Linked DNA regions of Homo sapiens: region 2 is linked to region 1. Evidence: promoter capture Hi-C in 16 types of primary human blood cells and fetal thymus (Javierre and others, 2016). All regions are on one chromosome and are shown on one strand. Each heading gives the region's core, a stretch centred on a gene start or on the middle of the fragment in contact. The rest is flanking DNA. Distances are from core to core; before and after follow the strand shown.

Region 1 (4,571 bases), core at 1,232-3,731:
AGCATTTTTAAAAGACAGAAAAACACAAAGAAAGGCACTGGTTCCCTTCGCCCCCTAAATGTTAAGAAAATCTGATGTCCATTCCCCTGAAAAATGCCCACAGAGAGAAAAAACGATTTCGGAGTTTCTAAGAATCCCTGATTGAGAAGTCCAATAAAAGCTTCCTTGAATTTGCTATGGCTTTTTAAAAAAATGCTGGCCAGGCAGGGTGGCTCACGCCTATAATCCCAGCACTAAGGAAGGCCGAGGGGAGGGGGGCGCAGATCAACTGAGGTCGGGAGTTCGAGACCAGCCTGACCAACATGGAGAAACCCCGTCTCTACTAAAAATACAAAAATTAGCCGGGTGTGGTGGCACATGCCTGCAATCCCAGCTATTCGGGAGGCTGAGGCAGGAGAATCGCTTGAACCCGGGAGGCGGAGGTTGCAGTGAGCTGAGATGGCGCCACCGCACTCCAGCCTGGTCAACGAGAGCGAAACTCCATCTAAAAAAAATTGCTGGCTGGGCACGGTGGCTCACGCCTGTAATCCCAGCATTTTGGGAGGCCGAGGTGGGCGGATCACGAGGTCAGGAGTTCGAGACCAGCCTGACCAACACGGTGAAACGCCGTCTCTACTAAAAATACAAAAATTAGCTGGGCATGGTGGCCTGCGCCTGTAATCCCAGCTACCCAGGAGGCTGAGGCAGAAGACTCGCATGAACCCGGGAGGGGGAGGTTGCAGTGAGCGGAGATCGTGTCATTGCACTCCCGCCTGGGCGACAGAGTGAGACACTGTGTCAAAAAAAAGAAAAAGTGCTTAAGCTTGGTCAAGTCACTCTGAAGCTATCGGGAGAAAAATGAAGTGGCCCTAAGGAAAACATAGCCAATAAACCCAAGGAAACAAACTAGTTAACAGTTGTCACTACAGAAAGAATCCCCCACATAGAAGGCATTTGGACGATCAATATGCAGTGGAAGGCCGGGCGCGGTGGCTCACGCCTGTAATCCCAGCACTTTGGGAGGCTGAGGCGGGCGGATCGCGAGGTCAAGAGATCGAGACCATCCTGGCTAACACGGTGAAACTCCATCTCTACGAAAAATACAAAAAGTAGCCAGGTGTGGCGGGGCGCACCTGTAATAGAGCTACTCGGGAGGCTGAGGCTGCAGAATCACTTGAACCTGGGAGGCAGAGGTTGCAGTGAGCCGAGATGGCACCACTGCACTGCAGCCTGGGCGACCGAGCGAGACTCCGTCTCAAAACAACAACAACAAAACCCCAAAAAATGTTTCAATACGGTAAACAATTATGCATCTTGCAAAGGTTCTTGGGGGAAGGCAAGCAACATACTTAAAATATTAAGCCTTAACTTTTCCTGGATAGCCATTAAGAATCAAACAATTTGGAAAAATTCCTCTACACCTACTGAAGACTGTTTCAAATACTACGACTGAATCTTTCCAGCCTTTTAACACCACGCTGACAAGTCGGTTTAATAAAACGTAACTCTCCCCCAACCCCCGCCCGCCACAACTAATTAGCACTTTCAAAAAGTACTCGTTTTTCTGGTTACAGGGAAACCTCATGCTTCTCTAGTCCTGCAGGATGGTGAGGAAGGTTTGAGAAGAAATGGAGCGTCCGTGCTGGCCAATTACTGCACAGAAATAACACTTTTCCTTTTTGTCCAGGGGTGGGGGAAGAATCAAGTTTGAGGTCTCCACAGTTGATAACGCTACAACGATGACTAACGGGCTTCGGAACCACAGGCGATGCCGACCCTCCTCTGCTAGCCTTGCTCCCATCCCTCCCCCGATCCCTCCCCTAAAGGAAGCCTCGTGGCAATTCGGGTGATGAAACACCAAGCAACCGCCGGCCACGCACTCGGGACGCGCTCCTCGGCGGCGGCCCCGGCTCGTACCCACCCCCACCCGGTCCGCCCAGCCAGGGGGTGCACCGCCATAGAGGGTCCCAAGCCTGCACCCTCCCTGGCGTCGGGACTCCCCCGGGCCGGTCCGCCCCGGCCAACTTCCTCGAAGCCTCACGCGGACCAAACCTGGTCCCGGTCCCGCTGCCCCCGAGCCCCGAGTCACCTTCCCTATCACTCCATCCCGCCTCCCAGCCTGCACTCCAGATGGTCAGCCAGCGGAGCGGAGCGGCGCGGCACGCAGAGAGCTGGGAGAGCGGCCCTCGTCCTTGTCGCCGTAGTCCTCCGCCACGGCCGCAGCTACAACGCCAGAGACGGTGCTGGCCGGGACCGCGCGCCTCTAGTCGCTCTGCGTCCCCTGGCACCTTCTCTTGCGTGGCGCCGGGCAGGCAGGCAGGCAGGCAAGCAAGCAAGCAAGCAAGCGGGCGGGGTCGGCGCCCCAGGAAGGGAAAGAGCGCGAGGGCCGGCTAACGCCGCCGCCGCCGCCGCAGCCGCCGCCGCCGCTGAGTCAGCGCGAAGCGCGCTCCCCGCGTCGGTGCCGCGCGGGCGGGCGCCGGCGCCAGCAGTCTCTTGGAGAGTGCGGGCGGCAGCCCGCGGGCTGACGCCGGAGGCCTACAACTCCCAGCATGCAGGGAGCGGCCGGCGCTTCCGGGCGGCGAGGCGCACACGCGCTCCCTGGCGCTCGCCGGAAGGCGTGGTCACCGGGGCTTGAGGTGCATGCCGGGATGAGGCATCCGGCCCAGGAGTCCCTACCCAGCTCCTAAATCCCCGGCTGTGTCTGCGTGGTGTCAGAGCTCAAGCGTCAGGTTCGCCCCGAGCATTCCACAAAGGGCTTCTAGTAGTTGAGAGTACGGATTCACGAATCAGGATGACGTGGTTCTAACCACGTGTGAGTCAATTTAATTGCTTGTCTACGGCCCCAAGTGTCCCGAGTACAGCAGTGTAAAGCTCTGATGAGTGCTGACAGGTTTTCAAAATTAATTAATTAATTTATTTATTTATTCTTTGAGACGGAGTCTCGCTCTGTCGCCCAGGATGGGGTGCAATGGCGAGATCTTGGCTCACTGCAACCTCCGCCTCCGGGGTTCAAGCAGTTCTCCTGCATCAGCCTCCTGAGTAGCTGGGATGACAGGCGCGCGCCACCATACCCAGCTAATTTTTGTATTTTTCGTAGAGACAGGGTTGCACCATGTTGGACAGGCTGATCTCGAACTCCTGACCTCAAGTGATCACCTGCCTCGGCCTCCCAAAGTACTGGGATTACAGGCGTGAGCCACGGTGTCCGGTCCAAAATTTATTTTAAACAGACTAAAATTTTGTCCATGAAAAGAAGGAGAGCATTCTTAGGAAGTCCTACTCACGGGATCTTTCGATGCTACTAAATGTCACTTCATTTATTTGGTCACAGATTTATTAATTTATTAATGCAACATAGAGGCAGTGTAGGCTTAGGCTGCCTCGACTTGACTGCCACTCCGCCTCCTCACTAGTTGACCTCAGGCACTTTACTTTAGTCTATCCATGCTTCAGTTTACTCGTATGTAAAATGGGGATTGTTAATAGTACCGACCTCAAAGGGTTTCTGTGAGGTTTGAGTTAATACATGTGTTTGACACACAATGTGCTCAATATTTACATTTCATTGTTGATTATTCAATGTGTACTAAATACAGACTAGGTTGCTGCCACAGACTACAAACAAAACTTGGAGAGGGAGGAATGGTAAGAGCATAGAATAAAACTAATGTTTTAACAGCTACCTTTATTTAGCTGTCCAAGACACTACACCAGGCATTTCCTATATAAAATACCTTGAATCACTCTTGCATCATGTTTCTAATTTATGTGTTTAAAATGTCAGGCTAGTGGCTACAAGATGTCGCTAAAGGAGAACTGGGTTTTAATTTTTTCTTGTTTTTAGAGAAAGGGTCTCGCTCTGTTACCCAGTCTGGAGTAGAGTGGTCATAGCTCACTGCAGCCTTGACCTCCTGGGCTCAAGCAATCCTCCTGCCTCAGCCGCCCAAGGAGCTGGGACTACGGGTGCATACCATCATACCTGGCTATTTTTGTTTGTTTTTGTAGAGATGGGGACTTGCTCTGTTGCCCAGGCTGATCTCTAACTCCCAGGCTCAAATGAACCTCCCACCTCAGCTTCCCAAAGTGTTGGAATTACGAGTGTGAGTCCCTGTGTCAGGCCTTAATTTTCTTCACGCTGCTCTCAGTTGGCTTCCCAACGAAATAGGTTCTTTGTTGTTCTGGCATACAAATTTTCTTTTGATTGTAATCCTTGCATGCATTATGTTTCTACTATTCAAATTATTAATTATTCAAATTAATTATAAACAAGAAGTATCTCTTGTTTTACTTCTGAGAAAACCAAAGTCATGGTATTCTCAAGACTAGAGATAATTCAACAAAGCCTGTGAATCTCCCTCATTTGGAATCTCTCTGGGCCCAATCTGTTTTCCACTGCTAGGGCGCTGCTGCTAAAGCTATATCATATGAAACCACCCTCCCTAAAAGCTCAGGGACCATCTCCAAATAGGAGGGCGAGTGAAACTGTAAGAGCTGGATTGATGGGTGGAATCTGGAAGCTAAAGTAACTCCATCTTTGGTACTAATCTGCCATGTTGGTTTCTGATTAACCCTGTTCCCGGAAGGCCTTTAAG
Region 2 (4,571 bases), core at 1,278-3,777, 5.2 Mb before region 1:
ATTACTAGTATTGAAAAGAAGTGTTCTTTATTATAGTAACTGTATAAATCAATCCCGTAATTCTGGTCACTGTAAGTGTGCATAAATCACAATTTACTGATTACAAAAATCCATAATTTAAGTGAAGTTATCTAAGACAGTTCCTAGGTAAAAAATCTAATTCAATATAAGTAAATATGAAGTATTCCATAAACTTTCATGGAAAAAAATCCTTTCTTAAAAGCAAACACAGACCTGTTAATAAAGCAATTTATTCCATGCTTAAGAATACGTTCAACTTTCTCCTTCATTTTTTCCTTTTCCGCATGTTCTATTTCTGCAACCTTTGCTGTAGAGTCAACTCTTACCCGGGAACCAAATATCTAAGACAAACGAAGCATAAAGAGAGCATCAGTTTCATTATTTTTTTTGAGATTGAGTCTCGCTCTGTTGCCCAGGCTGGAGTGCAGTGGGGCAATCTCGGCTCACTGCAACCTCCACCCGCTGGGTTCAAGTGATTCTCCTGCCTCAGCCTTCCAAGCAGCTGGGATTACAGGTGTGCGCCACCACACCCAGCTAATTTTTGTATTTTTAGTAAAGACAGGGTTTCACCATCTCACATTGGTCAGTCTGGCCTTGAACTCCTGACCTTGTGATCCGCCCGCCTGGCCTCCCAAAGTACTGGGATTACAGGCGTGAACCACCACGCCAGGCCTCATTACTCTTTTTAAAGAGTCCCATAGCATATTTCAACATTTTTACCAACGTATATATATGTGTATATACACAATAGATTCATACCTATTCCAAGCTTTTTAGTGCAATTGATTCCTGAGTTTATAGAATCCAGCAATTTTTTTTTTTTTGAGACTTTTGAGACGGAGTTTCACTCTTGTTGCCCAGGCTCGAGTGCAGTAGCACAATCTCGGCTCAGTGCAACCTCCGCCTCCTGGGTTCAAGTGATTCTCCTGCCTCAGCCTCCCGAATAGCTGGGATTACAGGCATGCGCCACCATGCCCAGCTAATTTTGTATTTTTTTTTTTTTAGTAGAGACAGGGTTTCTCCATGTTGGTCAGGCTGGTCTCAAACTTCTGATCTCAGATGATCCACCACCTTGGCCTCCCAAATTGCTAGGATTACAGGCATGAGCCACTCTGCCTGGGCAGTAATTTTAATTTTTAAAAAGTAGAGTTACATACCTTTATTTTGTCTGTATCCATACCAGTATTTGCAATAAGAATTTTAGCATTTTCAATTCGTTTTGGTTGATTTACTCCAATTTTTTTATCCAACAGGAAGCCTACAATAAATATAAGAACAGTATCATATTTAATACTTCAAAGCAGCCTTAGTAAATCTTATAAAAAGCTGTCTGCTTTATCATATCACTGTTTCAAAGAAGCTATTTAAGTCCAATTTACCAAGCTCTTAGAAGGCATAAAAGCAAGCTTGTCCAACCTGCCTTATTCTGTTGTTGTTTTGCTTTTAGGCTTTTAGCGCCTGAAAGCCATGGATTTTAGTTTCTGTCTCTAGTGATAAGCAGAAAAGAGGGAGGAGGAAGGGGCTTTACCGACCCAACCAGAAACAGAAACTAGGAACCCATGACTGTATTCTCTTCCTTGGACACTTCTGGTATAAAGCATCCCACTAGAAGAGTTATTACAAAATCAATTTAATGGGTTACTTAAAAAATATGAAACAGAAAATATAAGAGCACAGTACAGACAATAAAATTAAACAGTATTTTGAAACTTTTGTTTCAGATATACGCTACACCCACATCTGTATGGGTTGCAATATAAAGACAATAGGTTAAGTCCTATATTTTTATTAGCTTAAAATCACCACCACAAGAGAAAAATTGAAGATTCAGGTATTGAGGCTGGTGGTAAAAATGGAAAAACCATGGACACCGTGGAGTCAGATAAATCTGACCCTGATCATGCCCCTGCTGCTGGCTATATAACCTTCGACAAATTATCCAACCAGAAATGCTAATTTGTAAAACAGGAATGTAACCAGTAGCAGAGGTGCTAGTTACCAGCCTAGTCCTGCTGCTTTGGAACCATCATACAAACCCAGTACCACCTACCTTTCTAGGCCTTTTTTTGGTTACATTAGAAACTTTTCCATTATGAAGCCACCATTATCTTGGGTTTTCTACTCTATTCAAGTGAACCTAATCCTCACTCACCAGGTCATGATGACTAAATGACTAAAGTTCCTATTACAATTCCTAGTACAGAGCAGACATTCAAGAATGGTGCTGCTTGTGCTACTAATATTCTTGTTTTAATGCTCCTTCCCTACCACCAGCCCCTATCAGAAATGCTACGCAGCGGCCAGGCATGGTGGCTCACGCCTGTAATCCCAGTACTTTGGGAGGCTGAGGCAGGTGGATCCCCTTAGGTCAGGAGTTCGAGACCAGCCTGGTCAACATGGCGATACCCCGTCTCTACTAAAAATACAAAAAAGTTAGCCAGGCATGGTGGCACACGCCTGTAATCCCACCTACTCAGGAGGCTGAGGCAGGAGAATCGCCTTAACTCAGGAGGCAGTGGTTGCAGTGAGGCGAGATCATACTGCTGCACTCCAGCCTGGGTGACACAGCCAGACTCCGTCTCAAAAAAAAAAAAAAAGAAATGCTACACAGCTCTTGTATATAAACTTAATCAAGAGTATTTTCAGAATTATGACTCTCTCTTAAAATAAATCAAGACCTATGACACAGAACAAAACCAGGACTCCAAACCACTGGTAAAAACAGAAGTTGTAAAGCACCATCTAATTCTTTTTTTTTCCTTCTCTATATAAGAATGCCTATACTTTTTGACAGGCCATTTTGTGAAGTAAATATAATGTGAAGATGATCTGGAAAACTTCACTCTAAACAAAAATGTACTACTAAGAAAGCAGTACTTATTATGTCTCATTTATCACTCTTTAAGAACTAGATCCTCTTGCCCTATAAACATACATAATTATTTGTTAAAGAAATTTTTTTTAATTCTTTTCTAAAAAAAACTAGTCATCCCCCAGTATACGAAGGGGACTGGTTCCAAGACGCCCACATACACCAAAATCCCCACATACTTAAGTTCCAGGCTGACTGGAACCAGCAGATTTGAAAAGCTGGCCCACTATATACATGGGTTTCAAATCCTGCAAATACTGCATTTTCCATCCACGTTCGGTTGCACATGTGCAAACCACGGACACAAAGGGCTGACTATATTTATTGAAAAAACCTGCATTGTGAACCTACATAATTCAAACCCATGTTGTTCAATGGTCAACTGTACATCCTCAACAACCAGCTAACACAATGATTTGACTGACCCAGACCCTTCCTGGAGAATACATATAATCCTGGTAAAAGTACCATTTGAGAATAGATGATTTCTAGTAAAAGAAAACATTTCCTCTTTATCAGAGACTGCAAATAACTTCATGGTAGTTAAGTAAACTCTAGAGATCATCAACAATGCTGGAATAGCGCGGGAAGAGGAGTACACTGTCAATAAAATGACAAAAATGGTTGCACATATGATATGTCCTTAAATTCAAGTTCACTGGCTTTGTAAAGGGTCACTGGTCTCAAAACAGAATTCACTCAGTATTCAGCCCTCAGCATCTAATCAAAGCTTCTTGTATCTGACATTCATACATACCTTCATCTAAATAGGAATCTGCCAAACTTCCTCCTAGCTTCTTGATAATATGAATTGCCTCCAGGTTGCCAGAGCCTTTCAGTCTGAGAACTGCTTCTACAGCTAACTTTGTAAAGTGGTCTTTGTGATGAGTAAGAAGTTTTGAGGATAATGTTGTGCCCGCAATATTCATTAAATCTTGACGGAATTTAACTTCATCGGAACTAAATAAAACCAACCAAATATACATATTAACCCTACTTTACTTTTCAAAATTTATCTAGATATTCATGTCAATAGATAATTTTACCCTAACTGATCAAGTCTGTAAGCTATATGAAAAGAATTAAACCTCAGCAGTAATCAAGAAACACAAATTAAAGATGTTATTTTCCCCACCAAACTGGCAAAATGCCAAAAAAAAAAGAGGGGTGGGGGCCACACAAGCATGCAAAAGTCTAATGTTGGCAAGAATGTGAGAAATGGCCGGGCACAGTGGCTCACGCCTGTAATCCTAGCACTTTGGGAGACTGAGGAGGATGGATCACTTGAGGTCAGTTCAAGACCAGCCTGAGCAACATGGTGAAACCCCATCTACACTAAAAATACAAAATTAGCTGGCTATGATGGCACATGCCTGTAGTCCCTGCTACTTGGGAGGCTGAGGCAAGAGAATCGCTTGAACCCGGGAGGCAGAGGTTGCAGTCAGCCGAAGTCGTGCCACTGCACTCCATTCTGGGCAACTCTAAGAGCGAGACTCCGTCTCAAAATAAATAAATAAATAAAAGGACGTGAAAAACAAGTATTATTATACAGTTGTGAATGGGCAAATAAATAGAAGTGCCTTAAAACAGTGGTCCCGGACCTTTTTGGCACCAGGGACTGGTTTCATGGGAAGACAATTTTTCCACCTGCTGCTCACCTGCTGTGCAGCCCAGGTTT

Evidence for each region. The method cuts DNA at HindIII sites, captures the fragments that hold promoters and counts their contacts. A CHiCAGO score of 5 or more calls a contact.
Region 2: a contact is called between a fragment that was not itself captured here and the fragment with the promoter of XPOT in region 1, in 1 of 17 cell types (total CD4 T cells). The highest score is 5.7, in total CD4 T cells.

What each region holds. Positions count from the first base shown.
Region 1 is chr12:64,402,302-64,406,872 of GRCh38, reverse strand. It overlaps XPOT (exportin for tRNA), which reads right to left and starts at 2,481. Exons shown (of 25, transcript NM_007235.6): 1 at 2,069-2,481. RefSeq lists enhancers at 883-1,759, 2,857-2,906 and silencers at 1,867-1,976, 2,307-2,466. The HindIII fragment of the contact is 10,073 bases long and covers 805-4,571 here.
Region 2 is chr12:69,588,767-69,593,337 of GRCh38, reverse strand. CCT2 (chaperonin containing TCP1 subunit 2) reads right to left here. Exons shown (of 16, transcript NM_006431.3): 7 at 3,651-3,853; 8 at 1,179-1,279; 9 at 235-362. Among named protein-coding and RNA genes, the nearest start is that of CCT2, 5.6 kb to the right of the region's middle. The HindIII fragment of the contact is 2,196 bases long and covers 1,430-3,625 here.